7 separate regions of the Homo sapiens genome follow, and all the other regions are linked to region 1. Evidence: promoter capture Hi-C in human tissues and cell types (Jung and others, 2019). All regions are on one chromosome and are shown on one strand. Each heading gives the region's core, a stretch centred on a gene start or on the middle of the fragment in contact. The rest is flanking DNA. Distances are from core to core; before and after follow the strand shown.

What was found. The method cuts DNA at HindIII sites, captures the fragments that hold promoters and counts their contacts. A contact is called where the count stands out against the background at its distance.
Region 2: a contact is called between a fragment that was not itself captured here and the fragment with the promoter of RBFA in region 1, in 2 of the 25 tissues and cell types used here (IMR-90 fibroblasts and lymphoblastoid cells).
Region 3: a fragment that was not itself captured here is called in contact with the fragment with the promoter of RBFA in region 1 in 3 of the 25 tissues and cell types used here (IMR-90 fibroblasts, dorsolateral prefrontal cortex and mesenchymal stem cells).
Region 4: a fragment that was not itself captured here is called in contact with the fragment with the promoter of RBFA in region 1 in 1 of the 25 tissues and cell types used here (mesendoderm cells).
Region 5: a contact is called between a fragment that was not itself captured here and the fragment with the promoter of RBFA in region 1, in 1 of the 25 tissues and cell types used here (mesenchymal stem cells).
Region 6: a contact is called between a fragment that was not itself captured here and the fragment with the promoter of RBFA in region 1, in 7 of the 25 tissues and cell types used here (IMR-90 fibroblasts, dorsolateral prefrontal cortex, lymphoblastoid cells and 4 more).
Region 7: a fragment that was not itself captured here is called in contact with the fragment with the promoter of RBFA in region 1 in 5 of the 25 tissues and cell types used here (H1 embryonic stem cells, IMR-90 fibroblasts, dorsolateral prefrontal cortex and 2 more).

What each region holds. Positions count from the first base shown.
Region 1 is chr18:80,032,726-80,036,377 of GRCh38, reverse strand. RBFA (ribosome binding factor A) reads right to left here and starts at 1,944. Exons shown (of 7, transcript NM_024805.3): 1 at 1,725-1,944. The coding sequence starts at 1,882. It also overlaps a transcript of TXNL4A not described here. RefSeq lists silencers at 1,749-1,898, 2,009-2,088, 2,099-2,418, 2,301-2,457, 2,489-2,658. The HindIII fragment of the contact is 12,317 bases long and covers 1-3,652 here.
Region 2 is chr18:79,808,276-79,811,927 of GRCh38, reverse strand. The region is part of intron 1 of KCNG2 (potassium voltage-gated channel modifier subfamily G member 2); the gene reads right to left. Among named protein-coding and RNA genes, the nearest start is that of KCNG2, 12 kb to the right of the region's middle. The HindIII fragment of the contact is 3,330 bases long and covers 287-3,616 here.
Region 3 is chr18:80,249,479-80,253,130 of GRCh38, reverse strand. No RefSeq gene overlaps it. Among named protein-coding and RNA genes, the nearest start is that of PARD6G, 3.8 kb to the right of the region's middle. The HindIII fragment of the contact is 3,076 bases long and covers 442-3,517 here.
Region 4 is chr18:80,228,984-80,232,635 of GRCh38, reverse strand. The region is part of intron 1 of PARD6G (par-6 family cell polarity regulator gamma); the gene reads left to right. Among named protein-coding and RNA genes, the nearest start is that of PARD6G, 17 kb to the left of the region's middle. The HindIII fragment of the contact is 5,802 bases long and covers 1-3,652 here.
Region 5 is chr18:79,837,313-79,840,964 of GRCh38, reverse strand. All of the region lies in intron 1 of KCNG2 (potassium voltage-gated channel modifier subfamily G member 2), which reads right to left. Among named protein-coding and RNA genes, the nearest start is that of KCNG2, 41 kb to the right of the region's middle. The HindIII fragment of the contact is 8,072 bases long and covers 1-3,652 here.
Region 6 is chr18:79,858,728-79,862,379 of GRCh38, reverse strand. The region is part of intron 2 of KCNG2 (potassium voltage-gated channel modifier subfamily G member 2); the gene reads right to left. Among named protein-coding and RNA genes, the nearest start is that of KCNG2, 63 kb to the right of the region's middle. The HindIII fragment of the contact is 4,051 bases long and covers 1-3,652 here.
Region 7 is chr18:79,880,123-79,883,774 of GRCh38, reverse strand. The region is part of intron 3 of KCNG2 (potassium voltage-gated channel modifier subfamily G member 2); the gene reads right to left. Among named protein-coding and RNA genes, the nearest start is that of SLC66A2, 70 kb to the left of the region's middle. The HindIII fragment of the contact is 7,076 bases long and covers 1-3,652 here.

The DNA of each region.
Region 1 (3,652 bases), core at 695-3,194:
TACGCTAATTGATAAAGATGTTTCCCATGGAAGTTCAAGTAAAGGATTCAGATACTGTTATAGGCATAGACTGAGACTGAACAATTAAGCAAATGGATGGTGGGAGCCACGCTCACCATTGGAGTGCGACTTACAGATCAGCAAGGAGAGGAGGCTAGAATGATCCACACAGTACGTCTGGAGTTGGAGACAGATGGCTATACACGGAAATGTTTATAGGTGCATATTTACACAAGGGTTAGTAGAAACACATATATCCTTTCGTCAGATGAGATGGCCCAAAAGACAGACACCCCAGAAGCAATGAACACACCCAGCACCCATGGTTTCTAATCTCTCTCTCCAATAAAAGGAACGAGGGCTTCTTGGAGAAATGGCTGATTTTAGGGCTGTGGTACGAAACACACAAGATGAGCCTGGAGTATCTTGTAGTGCCAGAAAGTAGGAAAGTGTTTAACACACACAGAACCCAGCAAAACCCCACAATGACAGGGTATGCAAACAGGACATAGGAGCTTAGTGAGCTCCTAAGGGCCTGAGCTGGAAACATTCGAACAAAACTAAGTAACACGGGATTATAACCCATGAGTTCTTGGTGATATGAATGAATTAATACATGGGGTGAAGAGACATATCCCTTGTGCAGAATGCAAACCACTTATGAGCAAAATTCCCCACTCATTAGGCATGGGCTGCACACAGCGACTTTCTCCCAGAGTACAGTAAGGAAAGGGGGCAAAAAGAGTAACTTTACGGTAGAGAAACCTGGCAAGCACCTCATGCAGGGGATCACGGCCAGCGTGGACCCTGGATACGGTGCGATGAGAATGGCCTTTACCTCTGTAGTCTTCCTCCCCAAAAGCCATAATCCACGTCTAAGCATTAAAAAAACAGGCACATTCCAACAGAGAGGCATCCTGCAAAGCACCTGACCAGTACCCCTCAAAACTGGCACAGCCATCAAAACCAGGGACAGTCTGGGACACTACCCCAGCCTAAGGAAACAAGACAATTCAATGTAACGTGGACCTTGGGTGGGCACCTGGGACAGGAAGGGACAGCAGGCAGAACCAAGGAAAAGTGAATAAAGTATGAGCTTCAGTTAGCAACACTCTTATCAATATCGGCTCATTAACTGGAACACGTTGGAAGCTAAAGTCCGACGCTAACACAGGGGGAGCTGGGTGCCAGGACACAGGAACGCGGTACTATTTTTGCAATTTTTCTGCAGGGTCTAAAACTGTCTTTAAAAGTAGTGTATTAAAGTAGAAAACATACAACCACCTACCATACTTAGAAGAACTAAAAGCAGTGTGAAAAGTCAATGTATTTTATTGTACTTATCTTTCATAATTTAAAAACACTAATTATCATGACAAGCTTTAGTCTTCAAATTCACACAGAAAGTCAACATTAGCAAGGAAATTCTTATATTTTTTCATTTTTCCTCATTTTCTGAAACTAATCTTCTGAAAAATACGTCTGGTGACAAGAATCAAAATAAACACACATTGTCACTTTGTTTTCTTAACCCGACACACGTCCACGAACACAAAAGCTGCAAATGCTGACAGTGAGAGCTAGAACTGCTGCAGACCCCAGGAGGCAGGAACTGGCGAGCTAGGCCGCATGGGCGCAAGAACGCGGATGAGCGGACACCGCAACCCGGGGACACCGCCCCCTAGGGAATACCGCGCCCAGGGACACCGCCCCCGCCGCATTACTTGGTTTTCGAGGCAAATTTCTTGAGCCAGTTCTTGCAGGAGACAGCAGAGCAGTGAAGTCCCCGCTCGCAGCCTGGAAATAGCGCAGCATCGCGGCTACGGAACAGGGCCCGGAGACCCGCGCGGGAGCGCCACAGCCCGCCCGCCGCAGCCCACATGGCGCGGCGCCGGGACCCGGAGCGAGCAGGGAGACAACGGGCGCAGGCGCGGAGCGACAACTGACGCGAGGGTGGCGGCGTGTGGGCGGGGCGACGGCGCAGAGCGGGAGGAAGACTCACGCCTGGCAGGCGGCGTGTGGGCGGGGCGATGATGCAGGGCGGGGCGATGATGCAGGGCGGGGCGAGGACAGACGCGAAGCTGACGGCGTGTGGGCGGGGCCACGGCGCGGGGCGGGACGAAGACGGGGTGCAAGGCGGGCGGGGCAACGACGGCGGAGGGGCGAAGGCCCGAGGGGGGCGGTAGGTGGGCGGGGCGAGGACAGACGCGAAGCTGACGGCGTGTGGACGGGGCGACGGCGAGGGACGGGGCAAAGACTGGACGCAAGAAGGGGCGGGGCGACAACGGCGGAGGGGCGAAGGCGCGAGGCGAACGGCGAGTGGGCGGGGTGAAGACCGACGCGAAGCGGGCGGTGGTTGGGCGGGGCGAAGACTGACGCGAGGCGGGCGGTGAATGGGCGGGGCGAAGACTGGCGCGAGGTGGGCGGTGGGTGGGCAGGGCGAAGACTGAAGCGAGAAGGGCAGCGCGAGGTGGGCGACTACCAGAGCGAAGCGAGCGGCGTGTAAGCGGGGTGAAGACAACGCCAGGTGGGCAGTGTGCGGGCGGGGGGGGCGGCAACGGGGGCGGGGCGAAGGACGACGCGAGGCGGGGCCGGCGGGAGCTGGGCGTGGGGAGGCCGCGTGGGCTGCGCGGAGGGTGTGCCACTCGGGGAAGCGTGGGAACCGCCTGGTTGCCTGGCGCTGCGTAGCTAGGAACACGTTTTGTTTAAATACTGGGAACTGACGTAGGCGGGTGCGCCGCACAAAGCAACGAAGGCATCGAAGCCTGGAGACCTGGGCAGGGCCGCTGTCGGCGGGAGGCTGCGAGGGGTCCGTCTGTTTCCGCCACTGGGCCCTCCAGGGCTTTGCTGCTGCGCCGCCTTCTCCCCGGGCACCTAGAGAAAGTCCCCAGATTGGGCGTCCTCCCCAGAAGTGGTCTCGCCCCGCCCGCCTCCCCAGAGTCAGCGTGGCCCAGCGGGGAAGCTGCTCCCCCCGGGCGTGGAAAGAGAAGTGAGCGCGACCGCAGTGTTGGGGATGCGTGGGCTGTGACTCCCCCGAGGCGGCTGCTGTGGTGTGAGACACGTCTGTGTGTGTGTGTGTGTGTGGGCGCGTGTGGATGTGTACATGTGTATGTGTGCATATGTACGTGTGTGTGCATGTGTGTGGACATGTATATGTGTGCATGTGCGTGCGCGTATATATGTGTGTGTGTATGCGTATGTATGTGTGTATATATTGTCAATCGAAGAAAACGACGAGACAAGTCTCTAATCATTTTAGGAGATTTATTTGCCAAAGTTAAGGACGCACCCAGGAGACAGGTCTACGCCTTTCTCCAAAAATGATTTTGAGGGCCCCAGATTTAAAGGGGAAAGGGCGGAGTATTGAGAAGCAGAGTTTTCACAAACAAACGGGCAGAGGAAAAACGTGGGGAATCTGCATTTTACATAAGATAACGCAGACAAAATGTGGTAGGGGAACAATCAGATGGGCTAGGGTGACTGCACCTGTAAAGATAAGCTATCAATTTGCATTGCCATGGTTAAGTTTTATTTTTTTGAAATGGAATCTCTCTCTGCCGCCCAGGCTGGAGGGCACTGGCGTGATCCCGGCTCACTGCAACCTCCACCTTCCAGGTTCAAACAATTCTCCCGCCTCAGCCTCTCGTGTAGC
Region 2 (3,652 bases), core at 702-3,201, 220 kb after region 1:
TCTCTTCTGTTGATGTTGGGTAATTTCTGTGGGTCAGGTTCACTAATTCCATCCAGCGTGATCTCCCCTTTACTGTTCACCCCATGCAGTCAGAGTTTAAAAAACTGTTGTTATATATTTCAGTTACGTGATTTCATCTTTTTCTTTTTTATATCTTTCATTTCTTTGCTAAGATTTTCTATTCCTTCATTTGTTTCAGGAAAATACATGATTGGTGAAGCATTTTAAACCCATCGTTGATTGGTGAAGCCTACTTTAAAATAGTAGTCATATAAACCAACATCTGATTCAGCTTGATGTTGGTGTCTGTTAATTGTCTTTTTTCATTTATGTTCTGGTTTTCTTGGTTCTTGGTGAGTGACTTTTTTTTATTGTATCATGGACATTTTGGATATTTATTCTCTTGTATGTGGAATCCAGTTGTCCCAGCACCATCTGCTGAAGAGACTATTCTTTCTCCATTGCATGGTCTTGGCACTCTCATCAAAAGTCAGCTGACCACAGATGTATAGGTTTATTTCTAGAATTGCAATTGTATTCCATTGATCAATATGTCTCTCCTTATGCCAATACCACACTATTTTGCTTACTGTAGCTTTGTAGTAAGTTTTAATAAATAGTGTGAGAACTCCAACTTTGTTCTTTTTAAAGATTTTTTTCACTTACTTTGGTCCCTTGTAATTCCATATGAATTTTAGCATCAGCTTGTCCATTTCTGCAAAAAGTCAGCTAGGATTTTGATAGGAATTGTATTGAATCTATAGATCAGTTTGGGAGTATTGCCACCTTAACAATGTTAAGTCTTCCTATCCGTGAACATGGGATGTCTTTCCATTTCTTTAGGTCTGTAATTTCTTTCAGCAATGTTCTGTAGTTCTCAGCATACAAGTCTTACACCTCTTTGGTTACATTTCTTGCTAGGGGTTTTACTCTTTTTGATGCTATAGTAAATTGTCTTCCTAATTTCCTTTCCAGGTTTTTCATTGCTAGTATACAACAACACGCTGAGTTTTGAGTATTGTTTGACTCTAAGTTCTGGTTTGTTTTTGTTTTTGAGAAGAGCCTGACTCATGCTTCTAAGGTTGGACAGTCCTCATCATTCAGAGACTGTGCATATATTTACTTCTAGTTTTTTTCTACGTTTTTTGGTTTGTTTTGTCTTTTTATACAGCATCTCACTCTGTCACCCAGACTGGAGTGTGATGGTGTGATTGTAGCTCACTGCAGCTTCAAACTCCTGAGCTCAAGTGATCCTCCCACCTCAGCATCCCAAGTAGCTGCAACTACAGGCCTGTGCCAGCACACCTGGTTAATTCTTTTTTTTTAGAGACAGGGTCTTGCTATGTTCCCCAAGCTGGTCTTAAATTTCTGAGGTGATCTTTCCACCTTAGCCTCCCACAGTGCTGGGATTCTAGGCATGAGCCACTGCATCTGGCTACTTTGTTTTTTAATTTTTGATTTCTACGTTTCCTGCCTTTACTCACCAGCACTCGGCATCAGTATTTGACATGAGATGGGACCAAAGCTGGGTTTGCCTGCCCTGTAGAGCTGTGCTGGGCAGCCCCCAGCAAACCCCCTCCGGGACTAGGCGTGGTGCTTCCCCCCTCCCCACTGATCAGAAATTCTCCAGTCTCATCTTGGTCCTCTTTGTCCACCCTCTCTTCTCTCTTTTCCAAGGCTTCCTTTTCAAGTTTCTCTTTTTGTCCCTTTCACCTGATTTTTTTCCTTTAGACTATTACCCACTCCCCCCTCCCACCGCCTCCATCTTCCCTGGCTTTTAAATCAGATTCTGCCTTTGCACATGAGAAGCCCAGCTGGGTGCTGACACAGGTTCTGAGGGATGCTCCCTCGAGGTTTCATCCTCATCGGCCCTTCCACCCAGGCCCAGCGCAATGGGCGGGCGGCTCCGCGAGGCTGGCCCTGTGGACGGCGCTGAGACCAGAACCCACAGCCAAACGCCAATGAGCACAGGACTCCGCCCACCAGCCCCACAACCCCATGAGCCCCGGAAAGTTGGAGCGTCACGATAGTGGGAGGAGAAGCTTTAAAACCGGCAACAATGAAGGAGACGCAGAGGGCAGCCACGGGCATTTGGCCACATTCTTGTTTTTTCTGGACGAGGTGACCACAGCTCCTAGTGTGCAGTAGGACGCCTGGGCTGCAGCATCCGAAAAGTACGTCTTGAGTGGGCGTGAAGATTGCCTTCTGGGGAGCGAGGTTTAGAACCGAAAGCTGCATAAGCGGCAGGTGCGCTGGGCACCCGGAACGTGGTGTGGTCAGTGAGGCCCCGGCAGCTCCTCAGGGCGAGGACTCTGGGACCGTAACGTGGAGTGTGGTCAGTGAGGCCCCGGCAGCTCCTCAGAGCGCGGACTCTGGGCCGGTAACGTGGAGTGTGGTCAGCGCGGCCCCGGCAGCTCCTCAGAGCGCGGACTCTGGGCCCATAACGTGGAGTGTGGTCAGCGCGGCCCCGGCAGCTCCTCAGGGCGAGGACTCTGGGACCGTAACGTGGAGTGTGGTCAGTGTGTCCCCGGCAGCTCCTCAGAGCGAGGACTCTGGGCCCATAACGTGGAGTGTGGTCAGTGTGTCCCCGGCAGCTCCTCAGAGCGCGGACTCTGGGCCCATAACGTGGAGTGTGGTCAGTGTGTCCCCGGCAGCTCCTCAGAGCGCGGACTCTGGGCCCATAACGTGGAGTGTGGTCAGCGCGGCCCCGGCAGCTCCTCAGAGCGCGGACTCTGGGCCCATAACGTGGAGTGTGGTCAGCGCGGCCCCGGCAGCTCCTCAGAGCGCGGACTCTGGGCCCATAACGTGGAGTGTGGTCAGCGAGGCCCCGGCAGCTCCTCAGAGCGCGGACTCTGGGCCCATAACGTGGAGTGTGGTCAGCGAGGCCCCGGCAGCTCCTCAGAGCGCGGACTCTGGGCCCATAACGTGGAGTGTGGTCAGCGAGGCCCCGGCAGCTCCTCAGAGCGCGGACTCTGGGCCCATAACGTGGAGTGTGGTCAGTGTGTCCCTGGCAGCTTCTCAGAGCGCGGACTCTGGGCCCATAACGTGGAGTGTGGTCAGTGTGTCCCCGGCAGCTCCTCAGAGCGCGGACTCTGGGCCCATAACGTGGAGTGTGGTCAGCGAGGCCCCGGCAGCTCCTCAGAGCGCGGACTCTGGGCCCATAACGTGGAGTGTGGTCAGTGTGTCCCCGGCAGCTCCTCAGAGCGCGGACTCTGGGCCCATAACGTGGAGTGTGGTCAGTGTGTCCCCGGCAGCTTCTCAGAGCGCGGACTCTGGGCCCATAACGTGGAGTGTGGTCAGCGAGGCCCCGGCAGCTCCTCAGAGCGCGGACTCTGGGCCCATAACGTGGAGTGTGGTCAGTGTGTCCCCGGCAGCTCCTCAGAGCGCGGACTCTGGGCCCATAACGTGGAGTGTGGTCAGCGAGGCCCCGGCAGCTCCTCAGAGCGCGGACTCTGGGCCCATAACGTGGAGTGTGGTCAGTGTGTCCCCGGCAGCTCCTCAGAGCGCGGACTCTGGGCCCATAACGTGGAGTGTGGTCAGTGTGTCCCCGGCAGCTTCTCAGAGCGCGGACTCTGGGCCCATAACGTGGAGTGTGGTCAGCGAGGCCCCGGCAGCTCCTCAGAGCGCGGACTCTGGGCCCATAACGTGGAGT
Region 3 (3,652 bases), core at 730-3,229, 220 kb before region 1:
TCCGAGAATCTGTGGATATGTGTAGGCAGGAAAGAGAGGAAGAGGACCTGGAATTCTAGGACTTTCTCACCCCTGGAGGTCACAGGGATGTTAGTGCTTAGCAGGGAGTGAAAGTCCAGGCACTCACTCTTGGCAGTAAAATTGGGAGATCGAGATCAACAAGAAGAAGATATCAGAAGGGCATGCAGAGGTACAGAGACTGGGACATGAACCAGGAGACTGAGAGACTGGATCAAGGTCATCTGAGGGAGCCCAGAGGGTTTCCCAGTATGTCCTTAGGCCTGTGGGCATTATCTGGGGTTTCTGTGGGATGCTCTAGAACAATTAAATCAGGCACATATTGAGGACAGAGGGGACTACATATCAAGCTGGGTACGGTCTGAATCCAAGCCCGTCTTCCTTTGGGGCTAAGGATGGCTCCAGGAAGTTGCTTGTTCACTGCCTTCTGTGTGATGCTGTTGGTTTTACAACTTGAGTGATCAAGCAGCATCTTCCGGGAAGATTTCCCCACATATCTAAGAATAAGGAGTTGATGCATATCCATTTAGAGTGAATGAACTCTTCACACCTAGCTTCAGGATTCTTGCTTTGGCTAAGACCTCAAGGCCAGAAGACATGAGTGCTTCCTTAATGTTTGTATTGCCAGGGCCCGGTACAGGCCGCCACCATGGCAGAATTTGATGAATCAGAGACATTATCTTGGAGATGGCCGTAAACTGGACCACCAAGAAACCATGCTGAAATAGACAAGAGGAAAAGCATGCAGTTTCATCTAATAGGAAATCAGTAGGGCCTGCAACTGCTTTGAACCTCTGAAATGCTTTGGGAGTGTGCACGAGGAGATGAATCATGCTGATGAATGGATGCTGTGTGGCTGAAAACTGACCACGCTTTTCTGCCATAAAATCACATTCTGATACATTCACCAAGTCAGTGAAAAGCTTTACGGACTGACTCTTTTTAAAACAGATCCTGAGACTCTAATCCATGCTTAGTGTAATACTTGGAACAAAGACTGTGCTTCATGTTCTAGGTGCTTTTATTTGTATTTTGTAAAAGTGTCCCAGAGTTTTAATGCAAAGTCAGAGACAGCTGCGTAAGGTTTACCACCTGCCTTTTGTCTTCCACCTGGGGGTGGACATGCAGGTCACACCGCAAGCTGGTTGAGGAGAGAGCCCTTTGCACCAATCTAGGGGATGCAACCAGGGCCACTTTGTAGGATGTGGGCAGATGGCTCTGGAATGCAGGGAATTCATTCTATTCTGGCCAACGGTGCCATCTGCTGAAAGAGCTACTGGTAAGTCAATTTAGGCATGAAGCTTCCATTGAGAGTCAAGATATTACTGCATCAAAAAGGCAGAAGAGGCTAGACACAGTGGCTCACACCTATAATCCCAGCACTTTGGGAGGCCGAGGCGAGTGGATCACCTGAGGTCAGGAATTCGAGATCAGCATGGACAACATGGTGAAACCCTGTCTCTACTAAAAATGCAAAATTAGCCGGGCGTCGTGGCACATGACTATAGTCCTAGCTATTTGGGAGGCTGAGGCAGGAGAATCGCTTGAACTCGGAAGGCGGAGGTTTCAGTGGGCCAAGATCGCGCCATTGCACCCCAGCCTGGGCAACAAGAATGAAACTCCATCTCAAAAATGAAAATTTTTAAAAAAGGCAGAAGAGGCCTCTTTGAGCAGGGGAAGAGTAAAGGGTAAAAAGAAGGGATGCCTTTATATGAGAATCAGGTGATAATGAGGCATAACTACTCTGCCATTTCCTTATTTCAATCGAATATCAGTTCTTTGCCTGCCTCATCCGAAAATATATTAGAATGCATTGCAAATGCAACAGCCTGCTGGTTCAAATATTACAGCGATGCTTTCCTATTACCCAACGAAATTATCTTAGAGAATGTTTTCTTAGAACATATACATCAGCAACAAATGTTCAATCATAAAAGAGCCTGCTCTCATCATAAAAGAGCCTGCTCTCATCATAAAAGAACCTGCTCTCATCTTTTTTTCAACAGGGTCTCACTCTGCTATGCCCTGGAGTGCAGTGGCATGATCACAGCTCACCACACACTCGACCTTCCAGTCTCAAGAAATCCTCCCACCTCAGCCTCCCCAGTCTCAAACAATCTGCCCCTCTTGGCCTTCCAAAGTGCTAGGATTACAGGCATGAGCCACTGCAGAGGGGCCTTCCAAAGTGCTAGGATTACAGGCATGAGCCACTGCAGAGGGGCCTTCCAAAGTGCTAGGATTACAGGCTTGAGCTACTGCACCCAGTCAAGGAATACATTTTACTGGGTCCACAACATACTTCCTTTTTGCTCCTGATGGTTCAGTTATTAGATGGGTTCTTAGAAGCCGTGATTTGAGGAAGATTTAACCCCTACCCATTCCTATTTTCTCTCTCATTTTCTGTCTGAAACAAGTCAGCCTCTCAGAGGCTCCCATGACCCCCAGTTGTGTGAAAAGGCAGGCTATCAGGCCAGGATCTGAGGAGTCTTTTCTCTCTCTCCTTTCTTTTCTCTTTCTTTCTTCTTTTCCTTTTCCTCCCCCACTCCCTTCTTTTTGCTTAGATGAGGTCTCTCTCTGTCACCCAGGCTGGAGTGCAGTGGCACAATCATAGCCCACTGCAGCCTCGACCTCCTGGGCTCAAGCAATTCTCCCACCTTGGCCGCCTGAGTAGCTGGGACTATAGGTGTGTCCCACCATGCCCAGCTAATTTTTTTTTTTTTTTGGAGAGACAGGGTTTCACCATGTTGCCTAGGCTAGTCTCAAACTCCTGGCCTCAAGCAATCCTCCAGCCTCAGCCTCCCAGTGTGTTGGGATTACAGGTGTGAGCCACTGTGTCTGGTAGGAGAGGGCTTTTGTTTTTTCCAATCTGGCTGCTGTACTGTGTAAAAGCCTTTCCAGCTGAAGGCTCAGTTAATTTTTTTTTGGTCTATACCCGCCTGAACCTAGAGCTCAAAGCCCTAGCAAATCCAGTTCAAGTCTCAGCTGGAAACTCAAGCTCCACACGCAACAGCAAGCTTTCCCAGCCTTTCCTCCTGCTTTTGCCTGCAGATCATGCCAATCAAGAACTGTGGAGCAACAGATGATTAAGATAAAGGAGCAGCACCTCTCAAACTTCAGTGTGGACATGAATCACCTGGGGATCTTGTTCAAGTGCGGATTCTGATTCAGTGGGTCTGGGTGGGGTATTGCTAACAAGTGCCAGGTGGAGCAGATTTTGGGCCTTACACCACACTCTGAGCCACAGGCATTGACAAAGTGATCTCACTCTCATCAACCTGGTCCAGAGCCAAGTCTAGGGCTACTTGAAATTCCGTAGCCTTCCAGCCTTTCCTTTAAAAGGCGTCTTCCCACTCCAAAGCCCCGAGCTTACTGGGTGGACCCCACTCCCACCTTCATTGCCTACAGTGCTGTTCATTCCTCCACATACTCCTTTGTCCCTGCATTTCTTAAAATGTGACAGTTGGAGCTCCTCCCTCAGGATATTACTGAGCCTCTTCTAACCACAAAACAATGTTGCCCACTGTAATGGGCAACTTGCAGTCAGCATTGAGCCTGTGACTTTTCTCAAATCCAAAGATTTGCATTCAGTTTAGGAAATTTCCCTTGAAAGAATGGCAGCACCTCTGTCCACAGT
Region 4 (3,652 bases), core at 798-3,297, 200 kb before region 1:
AGGGACCTGGTGGGAGATAATTTGAATCATGGGGGCAGTTTCCCCCACATTGTTCTCGTGGTAGTGAATAAGTCTCATGAGATCTGATGGTTTTATCAGGGGTTTCCACTTTCATATCTTCCTCATTTTTTTCTTGCTGCCACCATGTAAGAAGTGCCTTTCACCTCCCACCATGATTCTGAGGCCTCCCCAGCCATGTGGAACTGTAAGTCCAATTAAACCTCTTTTACTTCCCAGTCTCGGGTATGTCTTTATCAGCAGCGTGAAAACGGACTAATACATGCAAGGAGCACAGGCCCAGGACTGCAGGCCTGGCCACCTCATCCACTTGCTTCAGCAGCCCCGCAGTAGGCTTTCTGCAGTGGAGGTCAGAGTACTCCTGGTGACCCATCCCACCCACCCAGTCCCTGGTGTGGACACCACCTAGCAGAGGCCTGTTGAATTGTGTGGCTTGGGGGGCGGGGGCAGAACCTACCACTCTTTATCTCCACCCAGAGCTGCTGGCTCTGGTCACACTCATGAGCACAGCTTTTCACTCATGGAATTACTAAAAGGTTATTTCATTTTTTAAAAATGCCCTGAAAAACAGCTACCTGCCAGCAGTGAAGGGACAAGTGTAGGAACGCAGTGGCTTCTGCTCAGAGATTAGGGCTTGTGGTTCAGCTGCCGGAAGGCTGAATCTGCCAGCAGCTCAGGCCCACAGTGTGAGCCCAAAACAGGCTTACTATCCTGTGCTATTATAACTCCATACATGCAAGAGGTCTGCCTTTACTGTGCTTGCAACTTTGGGTTTTTGAGAAGGGCTCGGCAGCCATCCCTGTGGATGCCTGTGAGATGCCGAACCCGTCTCTAGGCCTGGGGGAGAACAAACAGCTTGGTGAGCAAGTTGAGCGAGTGAATTGCTCCCATTGGCTGGAGTCTCACTCGCTCACCAGGGCCTATATTGAACACAGGACATGTGTTCATATTAGAGTCTCACCACAACCCTGGGATGAATGTTTTTATCTATTTTATGAAGGAGGAACAGGATCAGAGAAGTTGAATAAATTATCCAGAGTTACACAGCCAGTACAGGTGAGGATTGGAACCCAGGTGTGTCCACTCAGAGCCTGGCTCTTTGCAGCTTTGCTATGTTGTCTGTCTGTATTTGTACAACTCCAGTGACCCAGCCTGCATCCCCTCAGCCGCTCCCAGTGGGCAGCACAGCTCGGATGCAGAACTGCCTAATTCCTCCATGTATCATGAGCTCACATCGGAATGGGACCCCACTTTCTTCCACGGGCTGGAGTTCGAGGCTTCTGCCTAAGTGAATTTACCTTTCAGGAAAGTCTTATGAAGGCAGGGACAGATGCGCAGCCTGTGCTCACGCCTCACACACTTGGGCCCAGGCCAACCCCCAGCACCTTTCCCCTGGCCCTACCTCTCAGCACTAGAGTCTCCTGAGCCCTTAGTTGCTTCTGGAGTAACCCTGGCCCGTTCATCCCACTCCCTTGCTGATGGGCCATCCTTGTCCATTCCCTCCATGAGGGGCATCCCCTCCCACCTGGGGTGTTCCTTCTCACAAAGGGCACCCCTTGTCCCTGACCTTCCATTTGGAATTCTCTCTCCCATCACTGTAGCTCTTTAGGTCTTTTCCAAATTCCCTTTTTGAATTCAGCCTCAGGTCCTTCATTTACTAGCCTTGTGACTATGGGCAGGTTATTGAACCCCTCTAGGTTTCAGTCTCCTGGTTTGTAAAGTGGGAACAGTGACACCTCCCTAGGGTTGCCATCAGGATTACAGAGAGCATGCACACAAAGCTTGGCAGAGACTCTGACTTCTCTCCTGTATGGTAAATCCCTTCTGGACGGAGACCATGTTCATAGACCTCTGTGTCCTCCACTGCTACCCCTCCCTCACTGCTACCCCTCCCACCTCCTACATTTAGCAGTGCTGGGTGCATTGGTCCAGAACACATGCATGAACCAGAATGGCAGGCCCTCTGCAGGGACTGTCTGTGCTCAGAGGGGCCACAGGGTACAGTGGGTTTAGCCGTCACCCTGCACAGTCTGGCATGATGCTCGTCTGGGCAGTTCTGCGAGTGCCAACGGCTGCACCATCATCACTCTGGATCTTGGGTGGACAGCACCTAGGCAGGCGCCAGGCTCCACCTCATCTGACTCATAGGTGTGTGGCCCGATTTTAAACCGTCCCAACGTGTCAGCCCAAGAAGTCATTCTATAGCAAACTACTGCCGAGTCCCACGCTCCAACAGGTTCCTCATTAGGATGACCGCCTGTATTTCTTTAAGACCTGTTGCACTCTCTTTTCCTACATGGAGTTCTTTCTGTGTTTCTTAGTTTCCTACAGGGCACAGATGTGCACAGGTGCTCCCCGGCTTGAAGGTCTGAGGCAGCTCATGTTTGCCATGCACACGCGTGAGATCCTTTACAGCTGGAATGCGTCTGGGCTTGGATGGTAGGCCAGCATCGCCATCCCCTCCCAACAGACCCTGCTGTAGGCCAGGGGCTCTGACAGTCTAAGGCGAGTCTCAGCCCCTGCCAGTGAATGGTTTAGAGCTGGGCATGTGACCCCACCCTGACAGTGAGACTTGAGGGTCTTCTTCCTCTGAAATGGTGACACTGTGACCCTATGACCCACCTGGATGCGTGGGGGAATGTGGGAGACACCTGAAGGCCCCCAGCACGTCCTGGAGCCAACTCCCTGTGTCAACACGTCCCTGGAGCATCTCAGACACACACAGTCCTGTTTGCCTGGCCGCCCACACTGCCCTCCTCATTCCTGGGGCTGTCCAGGCTCCTTTGGTTGTGCCATGGGATGAAATGCTCTCTGTCCTCACGCTTCACCCAGTTATTTCCACTCCTTATTCCCTGAGTTTAAATTAGGGCCTGTGTTTTACAGTCTTCATTTGCATCTCTCAGAGTTTGCAATTACATATTTGCATGTGTGGATTACTGTCTAACTTCTGGCTCGAGCAAACCATCAGCTACACGAAGACAGGTCAGTTGTGCAACCTTTAATGTGCACATGAGCCCTGACTCCCATGAGAGTGCAGATTTGGACTCCGGGTCTGGTGTAGAGCATTTCCAGCTGGCTCCAGGGAATGCTTCTGGTTCAAGGAACATCCTCAAGGAGCAGGAGCTAGAACTTTCTGAAATGACCTTGCCTGGGCCCAGCCCCAGAGGTCCTGACTTCCTTGGCCTGAGGGGGCTCCTGGCTCAGACAGGATTCCCAGCCCAGGGGCCTTGCCCATCTGCTCTGTTTTGTGCCAAGGTAATTTCTGACCTAACTGGGACCTCGCTGCAGATTCGGTGTTGTGTTTTTGTGTGTGTGTTTTTAAATTTACTATATTGTAAAGGCTTCCTTGAGCCCTTAAATCCTTTTCAAATACCACTTCTGGCCAATTGTGGTGGCTCACACCTGTAATCCCAGCACTTTGGGAGACCGAGGTGGGTGGATCACAAGGTCAGGAGTGCAAGACCAGCCTGGCCAACATGGTGAAACCCCATCTCTACTAAAAATACAAAAAATTAGCCGGGTGTGGTGGCATGCACCTGTAGTCCCAGCTACTCGGGAGGCTGAGGCAGGAGAATCGCTTGAACCCAGGAGGTGGAGGTTATGGTGAGCCAAGATCATGCCACTGCACTCCAGC
Region 5 (3,652 bases), core at 634-3,133, 200 kb after region 1:
TTTATAGTTTTATTGTAAGTCATGATCCATTTTGAGTTAATTTTTGTATAAGGTGTGGGATTAGGTCAAGATTCATTTTTTTTTGGCTTATGGATGTCTTATTGTTTGTTGAAAAGGTTATATTTACTTTACTGAATCACTTTTGAACCTCTGTCAAAGTTAATCAGGAATTTTTTTGTGGATCTATTTCTGGGTTCTCTGTTCTATTCCACTGATCTATGTACATATCCCTCCACCAATACCACAAAGTGTCAATTATTATAGCTATATAACATGCCTTGAAATCAGGTGGATGGATTTTCCCCACTTTATTCTTCTTTTCCAAATAATTTTACCTATTCTAGTTCCCTTGACTTTCTATATAAATTTTAGATAATCTCATCTATATATTTTTTAAATCACTGGGATTTTAACCTCAAATTTTTATATCAATTTGGGGAGAACTGACATTTTTAATAAGCTAATTCCATAAATGAACATGATACATCTCTCCATTTATTTAGATTATTTCTTTTATTTGCCTTTTGTAGTCTTCAGCATTAAAGTTCTATATGTGTATTGCTAGACTCATACCTAAGTATTTCATTTTGTTGAACAATTGTAAAGGGTATTATATTCTATGTTTAATTTTGATATCCATGTGTCTTGCTAGTGTATTGATTTTGTATGTTTATCTTATGTCTTGCAATCTTGCTGAATTCATTTATTAGTTCTAAGAGTTTTTTTTGGCTTTTTGTAGATTTCTTGGGATTTTCTGTGTATACAATCATGTAATTTGCAAATGGGGCAGTCTTATTTCTTCCTTTATAACTTATATACATTTTATTTCATTTTATTACCCACTGCAGTGACCAGAGCTTTCAGTTATATGTTGAATAAGAGTGATGAAAGTGAGCATTTTTGCCTTGTTCTCCATCTGAGGGGAAGAACATTCAGTCTTTCACCATTAAGTGTATGTCAGCTAAGGTTTTTGTAGATACTCTTTATCAAGTCAAGAAACTTCCCCTTGATTCCTATATTCTGAGAATTTTTATCAAAAGAGGTGTTATTTAAAAAGTTTTTTGCATCAACTTATATGATTATGTGATTTTTCTTTAGCCTGTCAATATGGTGCTTACACTGATTGAATTTAAATACTGAATCATCTTTGCATCCCTGGAATAAACTCTCCACTTGGCCATGGTGTATAATTCCTTTTACGTATTGCTGATTTCTATTTGCTAATATTTAATAAGGTTTTAGAAAATGTTCCCTCCTCTTCCATTTTTTGGAAAAGACAGTATAGATTGGTGTTAATTCTTCCTTAGATGTTTACTCAGAGGTTTAGTTGTTTAGATGTTCTCCAGTGAAATCATCTGGGCTTGGAGATTGCTTTTTCAGGAATTTTTAATTTACAAATTCAAGTTTATTAACAGTTATAGGACTATTCTCATGATCTATTTCACACTGGGTGAATTGTGGTAGTGTGTATTTTCCAAGGAATCGGTCCAGTAGATCTGGGCTGTCAAATGTGCATGTAGAGTTGTTGGCAGGGTTCCCTTCTCACACTTCTGATGTCTACAGGGTATGCAGTTATGTCCTCTATTTTGTTCCTGACGTTGGTAACGTGTGTCTTCTCTCTTCTTAATTTTGTTGGGCTTGCCAGGAATTATTTATTTATTTATGCATTTAGAGTCAGGGTCTTGCACTGTTGTCCAGGCTGGAGTGCAGTGGCATGATCATGGCTCACTGCAGCCTTGACCTGGGCTCAAGTGATCCTCTCCCTTCAGCCTCCCAAGTAGCTGGGATGACAGGCATGCGCCCACATATTCTGCTAATTTATTTTTAAATTTATATTTTTGTAGAGGTGGGGTCTTGTCCAGGCTGGTGTTGGATTCCTGACTCAAATGATCCTCCTGACTTGGCCTCTCAAAGTGCTGGGGTTACAGGTGTGAGCCACTGCATCTGGCCAAGTTTATTCTATTGATCCTTTCAAAGAGTCGGCTCTTTGTTTCACTGCTTTTCCCTATTGTTCTACTGGGCTAAGCGCCATTGACTTCTGCTCTTCATTATTTCATTCCTTCTACTTGCTTTGCTCTTCCTCTTCTAGGTACTGCAGGTGGGACCTGAGATTGTACATTGAGGTTTTTCCTTTTTTCTAATGTAATTTCCCTCTTGACACTGTATAGCTTGGTCTCACAAATTTTGATATGTTGTGTATATATTTTCATTCTGTTCAATGTATGTTTTGATTTCCCTTAAGACTTCCTCTTTGGGCCAGGTGAGGTGGCTCATGCCTGTAATCCCAACACTTTGAGAGGCTGAGGTGGGAGGATCACTTGAGCCCAGGAATTCAAGATCAGACTGGGCAACACAGGGAGACCCCATCTCTACAAAAAATTTAAAAATTAGCTGGGCATGGTGGTGCACACCTTTGGTCCCAGCTACTCAGGAGGCTGAGGTTGAAGGACTGCTGGAGCCCAGGAGGTCGAGGCTGCAATGAGCCATGATTGCATCACTGCAGTCAGCCTGGGCGACAGAGAGACATTGTCTCAGGAAAAAAAAAAAAAAAGACTTGTTTGGCCCAAGGATTATTTAGAAGTATGATTTAAATTTCCAGTGTTTGAAGATTATTCTATTATTGATTTCCAGTTTTATTCCATTATGCTCAGAGAACCACACTGAGAACACTTATATGATTTCAGTTCTTTTAAATTTGTTGAGATTTGTTTTATGGTATACTTTTGATATGGTTTGGCTCTGTGTCCCCACCTAAATCTCATCTTGATTTGTAATCACCACATGTCAAGGGAGGGACCTGGTGGGAGGTGACTGGATTATGGGCCAGTTCCCCCCTGCTGTTCTTGTGATAGCAAGTTCTCCTGAGATTTGATGGTTTAAAAGTGAGGCACTTTCCCTTCACTCACTCTCGCTTTCTCCTGCCACCATGTGAAGAAGGTCTTGCTTCTCCTTCACCTTCTGCCATGACTGTAAGTTTCCTGAGGCCTCCCCAGCCATGTGGAATTGTGGGTCAATTAAACCTTTTTTCTTCATAAATTACCCAGTCTCAGGTAGTTCTGTATAGGCGTGAAAATGGACTAATACAGAAAATTGGTACCTGGAGTGGGGCACTGCTACAAAGATACTTGAAAATGTGGACACAACTTTGGAACTGGGTAAAGGGCAGAGGTTGGAAGAGTTTGGAGGGCTCAGAAGAAGACAGGAAGATGTGGGGAAGTTTGGAACATCCTAGAGACTTGTCAAATGGTTTTGACCAAAATACTGATAGAGATATGGACAATGAAGTCCAGGCTAAGGTGGTCTCAGATGGAGATGAGGAACTTATTAAGAACTGCAGTAGGGTCATTCTTGCTATACTTTCACAAAGAGACTAGTGGCATTTTGCCCCTGCCGTAGAGATCTGTGGACCTTTGAACTTGAGATGATTTTTCTCTCATGGAGAACCTCTAGTAGAGTAAAGCAGAGGGGAAATGTGGGGTTGGAGCCCCACATAGAGTCCCCACTGGGGAACTGCCTAGTGGAGCTGTGAGAAGAGGGCCACTGTCCTCCAGACCCCAGAATGGTAGATCCTCCAACTGCTTGCACCATCTGCCTGGAAAAGCCACCATCACTCAGAGCCAGCAAGTGAAAGCAGCCATGGGGGCTGTGCCCT
Region 6 (3,652 bases), core at 639-3,138, 170 kb after region 1:
CCACTTGCTGCCCTCTAAGCTATTGGAACAGACATCAGTGGCCACATCAGACAAAGAATATGGACTTTACAAAATTAGTTCACAAAAGTTACTCAACAAACCACAGTAGCTACAAAAACTCCTGGGGAGAGGGGAGAGTCTGATTTCCAGAACTGCCACTTATTAAAAATTTCATTTTCAACAAAAAATTACAAGGCATACAAAGAATACAAGAGTGTAGCTCATAGACAGGAAAAAGGAACTAAAACAGAATATCACTGAAGAAACACAGATATTGGACTCACCAGAAAAGATTTCACATAAGCTTATTTAATATCTTCAAAGAGCTAGAGGAATTTGTGAGAATGATGTCTCACCAAATACAGAATATCAATAAAGAGACAGAAGTTATATTAAAAAAAAGTGATAGAAATTCTGGTGTTGAAAGTGTAATAGCTGAAATGAAAAGCTCATTAGAGGGTCTCAGCAGCAGCTATGAACACGCTGAAGAAATAAGCAGAGAAACTGGAGATACATCATTTCATGCTATCCTATCTGAGGAGCAGAAAGAAAACAAGTGAAGAAAACGGAACAGAGCCTAAGAGACCTGTGGGACCATCACATGTACCAGCTTTTGCATAGTGAGAGTCCTGAAAGGAAAGAGGGAACAGGGAAGAAAGAATATTTGAAGAAATATGGTTTAAAAACCCTCCAAATTCGATGAAAAACATTAATCTACACATCTAAGAAACTCAACAAACTCCAAGTAAGATAAATTCAAAGACATCCACACTGACACACCACAAACTGTCTAAAGACAAAGACCCGGCACAGTGGCTCATGCCTGTAATCCCAGCACTTTGGGAGGCCGAGGCAGGTGGATCCTCTGAGGTCAGGAGTTTGAGACCATCCTGGCCAACATGGCAAAAACCTGTCTCTACTAAAAATACAAAAATTAGCGGGGTGTGGTGGCAGGTGCCCGTAATCCCAGCTACTCGGGAGGCTGAGGCAGGGAGAATTGCCTGAACCTGGGAACGGAGGTTTCAGTGAGCCGAGATCGCGCCACTGCAGTCCAGCCTGGGTAACAGAGTGAGAACTCCATCTCAAAAAAAAAAAAAAAAAAAAAAGAGAGAGAGAGAAGAAAACAGAGGCAAAAATCCTCCACAAGACATGAGCAAAATAAATCCAGCTTCATATTAAAAGGATTATACATGATGACCATTTGATCGTTTACCATAGAGATTTATCACAGGAATACACGGGTGGCACAATACACAAAATTACTATAATACGCTCATTTATAGGATGAAGGGAAAAATCATGCGATAATTTCAATAGAGGCAGAAAAAGGATTTGACGAAGTCTAACATCCTTTCCTGATTAAACAAAAAACTCAATCAATAACTAGGTCTAAAAGAGAACTTCCTCCACATGACAAGGTCCACGTAGGAAAAACTCACCGCTAACTCCATAGTCAACGGTGAAAGACTGGATTCTTTCCCCTAAGACCAGGAACAAGACTGAAATACCTGCTCTCATCAGTTCTACTTAACATTGAACTGGAAATTATAGTCAGAAAAATTAGGCAAGAGAAAGAAATAAAAGGCATCCACACTCAAAAGAAAAAAGTAAAACTATATTTTGAGATGACTTGATCTTATGATCTTATGTACAGAAAACCTTAAAGAACACACACGCACACATACACATACACATGCGCACACACACACACACACATCACTATGAGAATGGGTTCAGCAAAGTTGCAAGACATGAGATCGGTAAAAAAAATCAGTTGTATTTCTATACAAAAGCAATGAATAATCGGAAAAGGAAGTTAAAAAAATTCCATTTATAAGAGCATCAGAAAGAATAAAATACTTAGAAATAAATTTAACCAAGGAGTGGAAACTGAAACCTACACTGAAAACTGAAAACTACAAACATTGGTGGAAGAAATTTTAAGACTAAATAAATGAAAAGACATTCCATGCTCATGTATTGGAAGACTTAATATTGTTAAGATGGCAATCTTCCCTAAATTGATCAACAGAGTCAATCCAATCCATATGAAAATCCCAGTAACTTTTTTGAAGACATTGACAAGTTGAACATTCTATTGACAAGTTGAAAATTCTATTGGAAATGCAAGGTAGCCAAAACAAACTTGACAAAGGACAAAGTTGGAGGGCTCAAACTTACTTGATATCATTTTATTACATGCCTCCACCTAAATCTTGTGTCGAAATGAGATCTGTTCGTTTAAAAGTGTGTGGTACCTACCCCGCAACCTTGTTCTTGCTTTCACCATGTAACGTGCCTGCTCCCCCTTTGCTTTCTGCCATAACTGGAAGCTTCCCAAAGCCTCCCCAGAAGCTTAGCAGACATTGGCACCGTGCCTCCTTTACAGCCTGAAGAACCATGAGCGAATTAAACCTCTTTTCTTTATAAATTACCCAGTCTCAGGTATTCCTTTATAGGAATGCGAACATGGACTAGTACATTACTACTTACTCAAAGTGAGTATAAAGCTACAGCAATCAAGAGTGTAGTACTAGTGTAAAGAGAGACATAAAAATCAATGGAGCAGAATTGAAAGTCCAGAAATGAACCCATAAATCTACCGTCAGTTCACTTTTGACAAGGTCGTCAAGACTATTCAATGGAGAAGTAATAGTGTCTCCAACAAACGGTTATCCACATGTAAAAAAATAAAGTTGGACCCTGCTATCGTTTGGATATTGGCCTCCAAATCTTATATTGGAATTTGATACCCAGTGTCGGAGGTGGGGCCTAATGGGAGGGGTTTGGGTCATGGGGGCTGATCCCTCATGCATGGCTGGGAGGTGTCTTCATGGTAATGAGTGAGTTCTCGCTCTATGAGTTCACTCCAGAGTTGGCTGTTGAACCCGCCTGGCACCCCTAGCCCTTGCTTCCTCCATCTCCGTGTGGTCTCTGCACACACCAGCTCCACGCCATCTTCTGCCATGACTGGAGCTGCCTGTGGCCTTCCTCAGATGCAGATGCCTGATCTTGAACTTTTCCAGACATCAGAATCATGATGACATCACAAGCTTCTTTTTAAAATGAATTACCTGGCTCCAGGTATTCCTTTATAGCAACACTGAATGGACCAAGATGCCTACATCACACTATATATAAAAACTAATTCAAACTAGATCAAAGACCTTAATGTAAGAGCTAAAACTCCAAAACACACGTAGAAGAAAACAGACTGTACATCTTCATGACCATGGATGAGACATTGGTTTCTGAAACAGAATGCCAAAAGCACAAGCAACAAAAGAAAAAAAGATAAATTGGACTTCATTCCAATGAAACTCTTGTATATCAAAGAACAGGACCAGGAAAATGAATGACAAGTAACGGTGGAAAAAAAAAGAGCTGCAAGTCCCGTATCTGATAAGAGTCCAGTATCCAGGATGTTAGGAACTCTTGGAGCTCAACAACAAATGACAAACAACCCAATTTAAACATGGGCAGAGGATCTGAATAGATATTTCTCCCGAGGAAGTATGTGAATGGCTAATAAGCACATGAAAGGTGATCAATATCATTAGTCATTATGGAAACGTAAATTAAAACTACAAGATACCACTTCACATCCACTAGGGTCGTTATAGTCAAACAAATGGAAAAAAAAAACCCAACA
Region 7 (3,652 bases), core at 372-2,871, 150 kb after region 1:
GTTTACCCAGGGTACCTGGAAGTGGAACAGCTGGCTTCTAAGACATATAAGCACATCCTCACCTTTACCAGACAGACATGTCTTCACCTTTGCCAGACAGGCCCCTCCTCATCGTTCACTAGAAGCTGCTGAGTTGGTCCCCAAGCAGCCACACAAATTCAGCCCTGTCCCCACCAGACAAGTGTCCCCTGGGTCACGGCCACAGCCAAGGTTCTGGGGCCCAGGGTGGTCCAGGCGGGGCAGGGTATAAACTCGTAAAACTCTGCACTAATATATTTTAAAAGCCTTCAAAGACTGTGTGCACTTTGACCTAGAAATTCTATTTTGGGGAGTTGTCAGGGAACGTCAGAAATGAGCCCAAAGATTTATGCAAAAGGACCTGCTCGCTCATCAGAGCTCAGCTTTATGGGTCTGGACAAATCACGGTCCTGGAACCACCACTACCGCGAAAACGCAGCGCAAAGACGCAGGACAGCTCCCCCAGCTTCCCCCCGCCGTTCCCTGCCTCACAGCCGGACCCCGCCCACCCAGTCTTGGCCCCCAACCCCTGGCTTTCCCAGGTATCCCATAGACGGGATCGCAGCGTGGCTTCCTGGCCTGGCCTCTCCCGCGTCAGGCCCTGCGAGCCCATTCGTGCTGTCCCGGGCACCCACCCTTTGCTGCTTTTCACCGCGCACCGTGGATGCACCGGGATTGATCTGGCACCGGCCGTCGCGGTCCGTGTCGGCTGCTTCCGGGCTAGGCCGTGCTGAATAAAGCCGGCTGAACACTCGCTCTGTACGTGACACACGCTGTCCTTCCCGCGAGTACGTCCTGGGCGTGGGCGCTGGTGTGCGATGAGCGCAGGTGTACCCGGCCTCCGCGTGCCACGCGCAGATGTACCCGGCCTCCGCGCTCCACGCGCAGGTGTACCCGGCCTCCGCGCTCCACGCGCAGGTGTACCCGGCCTCCGCGCTCCACGCGCAGGTGTACCCGGCCTCCGCGCTCCACGCGCAGGTGTACCCGGCCTCCGCGCTCCACGGCAGCCTCGCCACTCCATGGCAGCCTCGCCACTCCATGGCCTGCAGGTCCTGAGCCTTGCCGGCCGCGCACCCTCCTTTGAGCTTGCTGCTCTCGGCTGGTTTTTAGATCAGGGCCCTTCTAACATGTGAGTGACAGCTCCTGTGGCTTAACTCTGTATTTCCCTAATAACAGTTCAGCGCTGTATTTGCCATAGGCGTGTCTTCTTTGGTGAAGTGTCTGTTCAAAACTTTGTCCCTTTTAAAATCAGGTTATTTTCTTACAGTTGAGTTTATACAGTTCTTTATATAGCTTAATTACAAGTCCTTTGTTAGATATGTGATTTACAAATATTTTCTCCCAGTCTGAGGCTTGTTTTTTCATTCTCTTAACAGTCTTTTGTGGACAAAAGTCAAAAGAATTTTTTTAATAGAGATGAGGGTCTTGCTATATTGCCCAGGCTGGTCGTGAACTCCTGGGCTGAAGTGATCTTCCCACCTCGGCCTCTCAGTGTTAGGGTTACAGGCCTGAGACCCCAACTAGGCCAGGAGTTTTAGATTCTAATGAAGTGAAGCCTATCCATTTTCATATTTCATGAATCGCGTATCTGACGCCACGTCTGGGAACTCCTTCCTTACTCTCCATTGGCAAGGCCACCTCTATGTTTTCTTCTACAAGTTTATAGTTTTAAATGTTATATGTTTAGGGCCACGGTCCACCTTGAGTTGAATTTTTGTATAAAACGTAAGGCATGGGTTGTGTTTTTTTAAAATATGGGAGTTCAGTTGTTGTAGCCCCATTTGTTGAAAAGACGATTCTTTCTCCGTGCCCGGCCTTTTCACTTTGCCAAACGCCGGCTGGCCCCATTCATGTGGTTCTATTCCTGGACTGTGTCCACGACCCCACGCCTGTCCTTTCCCCACACTGTCCTGCTGTGGCTTCAGAACAAATCGTGAAAGCAGGCAGTGTCAGTTCCAACTGCTGCTTTTTCAAAACGGTTCCTAGGCCTTTCCATAAAGATGTTACAATCAGCTTGTAAATATTGCAGAAAATGGGATTCTGAATGGGATTTCACTGAATCTGGAGATGGACTATGGGGAGGGTGGACATCTTAGTCACACCGAGTCTTCAGCGCGTGAGCACTGCAGGCCTTCGTTGATTTCAGTCTTTATCAGTAATTATCAGCTGTATTTAGCTGTAATTATCAGCACGTAGATGGATCCTGGACCTAGGCTGTGAGACTTGCATGTAAGCAATTCATGGTTTTTGGTGCTATTAATGAACTTTAAAAAATTTGAATTCCAATAGTTCACTGCTAGCAACTCCCTTAATTTTCTTAAGCTTTGTTGTGGGTTTCCTGGGAATTTCTACATAGGCAGTTCTGTTCTCTTGCTTTCCAATCATACGGCGTGTTTCTACATAGGCAGTCCTGTTCTCTTGCTTTCCAATCGTACGGCGTGTTTCTACATAGGCAGTCCTATTCTCTTGCTTTCCAATCGTACGGCGTGTTTCTACATAGGCAGTCCTATTCTCTTGCTTTCCAATCATATGGTGTGTTTCTACATAGGCAGTTCTATTCTCTTGCTTTCCAATTGGACAGCGTGTTTCTACATATGCAGTTCTATTCTCTTGCTTTCCAATAGTACGACGTCTACTTTCCTTGCTTCACTGCTCTCTCTAGGACTGCCAACAGGTGCTGAAGAGGAGTGGGGAGCAGGCATCCTTGGGTTGGTCCCAATCTTAACGGGAAAACATTCAGTCTTTTGCTATGTATGTTGTTAGCTGTAGGGTTTTTTTGGTAGATGTTCTCTATCAGGAAAAGGAAATTCCCTTCTATTCCTAAATTGCTGAAAGTGCTGTTTTAAAAATCATGAATGGATACTGAATTTAGTCAAACGCTTTTTCTACATCTGTTGAGATGAACAGCTGGCATTTTTTCTTTGGTGCATTAATATTGTGAATTACATGGGTTGGTTTTGAGTATCGAACCAAGCTTGCTTTCCTGAGAAAAACCTCAGTTGGCCGTGATGTGCTGTGCTTTTTATGTCTTTACCAACCCCGATTTACTGATGTTTTGTTGAGGAGTTTCGCATGAGTTCATGGGAGACACTGGTCTTTGTTTTTACTTTTCTTGTCATGTCTCTGGTTTGGTATCAGAGGAGTATTGGCCTCTTGGAATGAGTTGGGAAGGGATCCCTCCTCTTACATGTTTCTGGAAGAGACCATGTAGAATTGGTGTTATTTATTCCTTAAATTTTTGTTAGATTCACCAGTGAAACTACCTGGGCCTGGAATTTTCTTCCTGGAAGGTTTTAAACTATGAATTTAATTTTTTTAATTACCATAGGATTATGTTATTTATTTCTTCTTGAGTGAATTTTGGTGACTGAGCATGTTTTTAAGTTAATTTTTGTCTTATCAAAGTAATTGTACATGTAATTTTTTTTTTTTTTTTTTTTGAGACAGAGTCTCACTCTGTCACCCAGGCTGGAGGGCAGTGGCGCGATCTTGGCTCATGTGATATTCAAAACCAACCCATGTAACTATCCCTACTTCTAAATGCTGATCTGGCCATTTATTGGCATATTAATGTTACACATTTTGGGTGACTTTGTAGAGTTGAGAATCTGGGTCTCCCACACACCCCACCTTC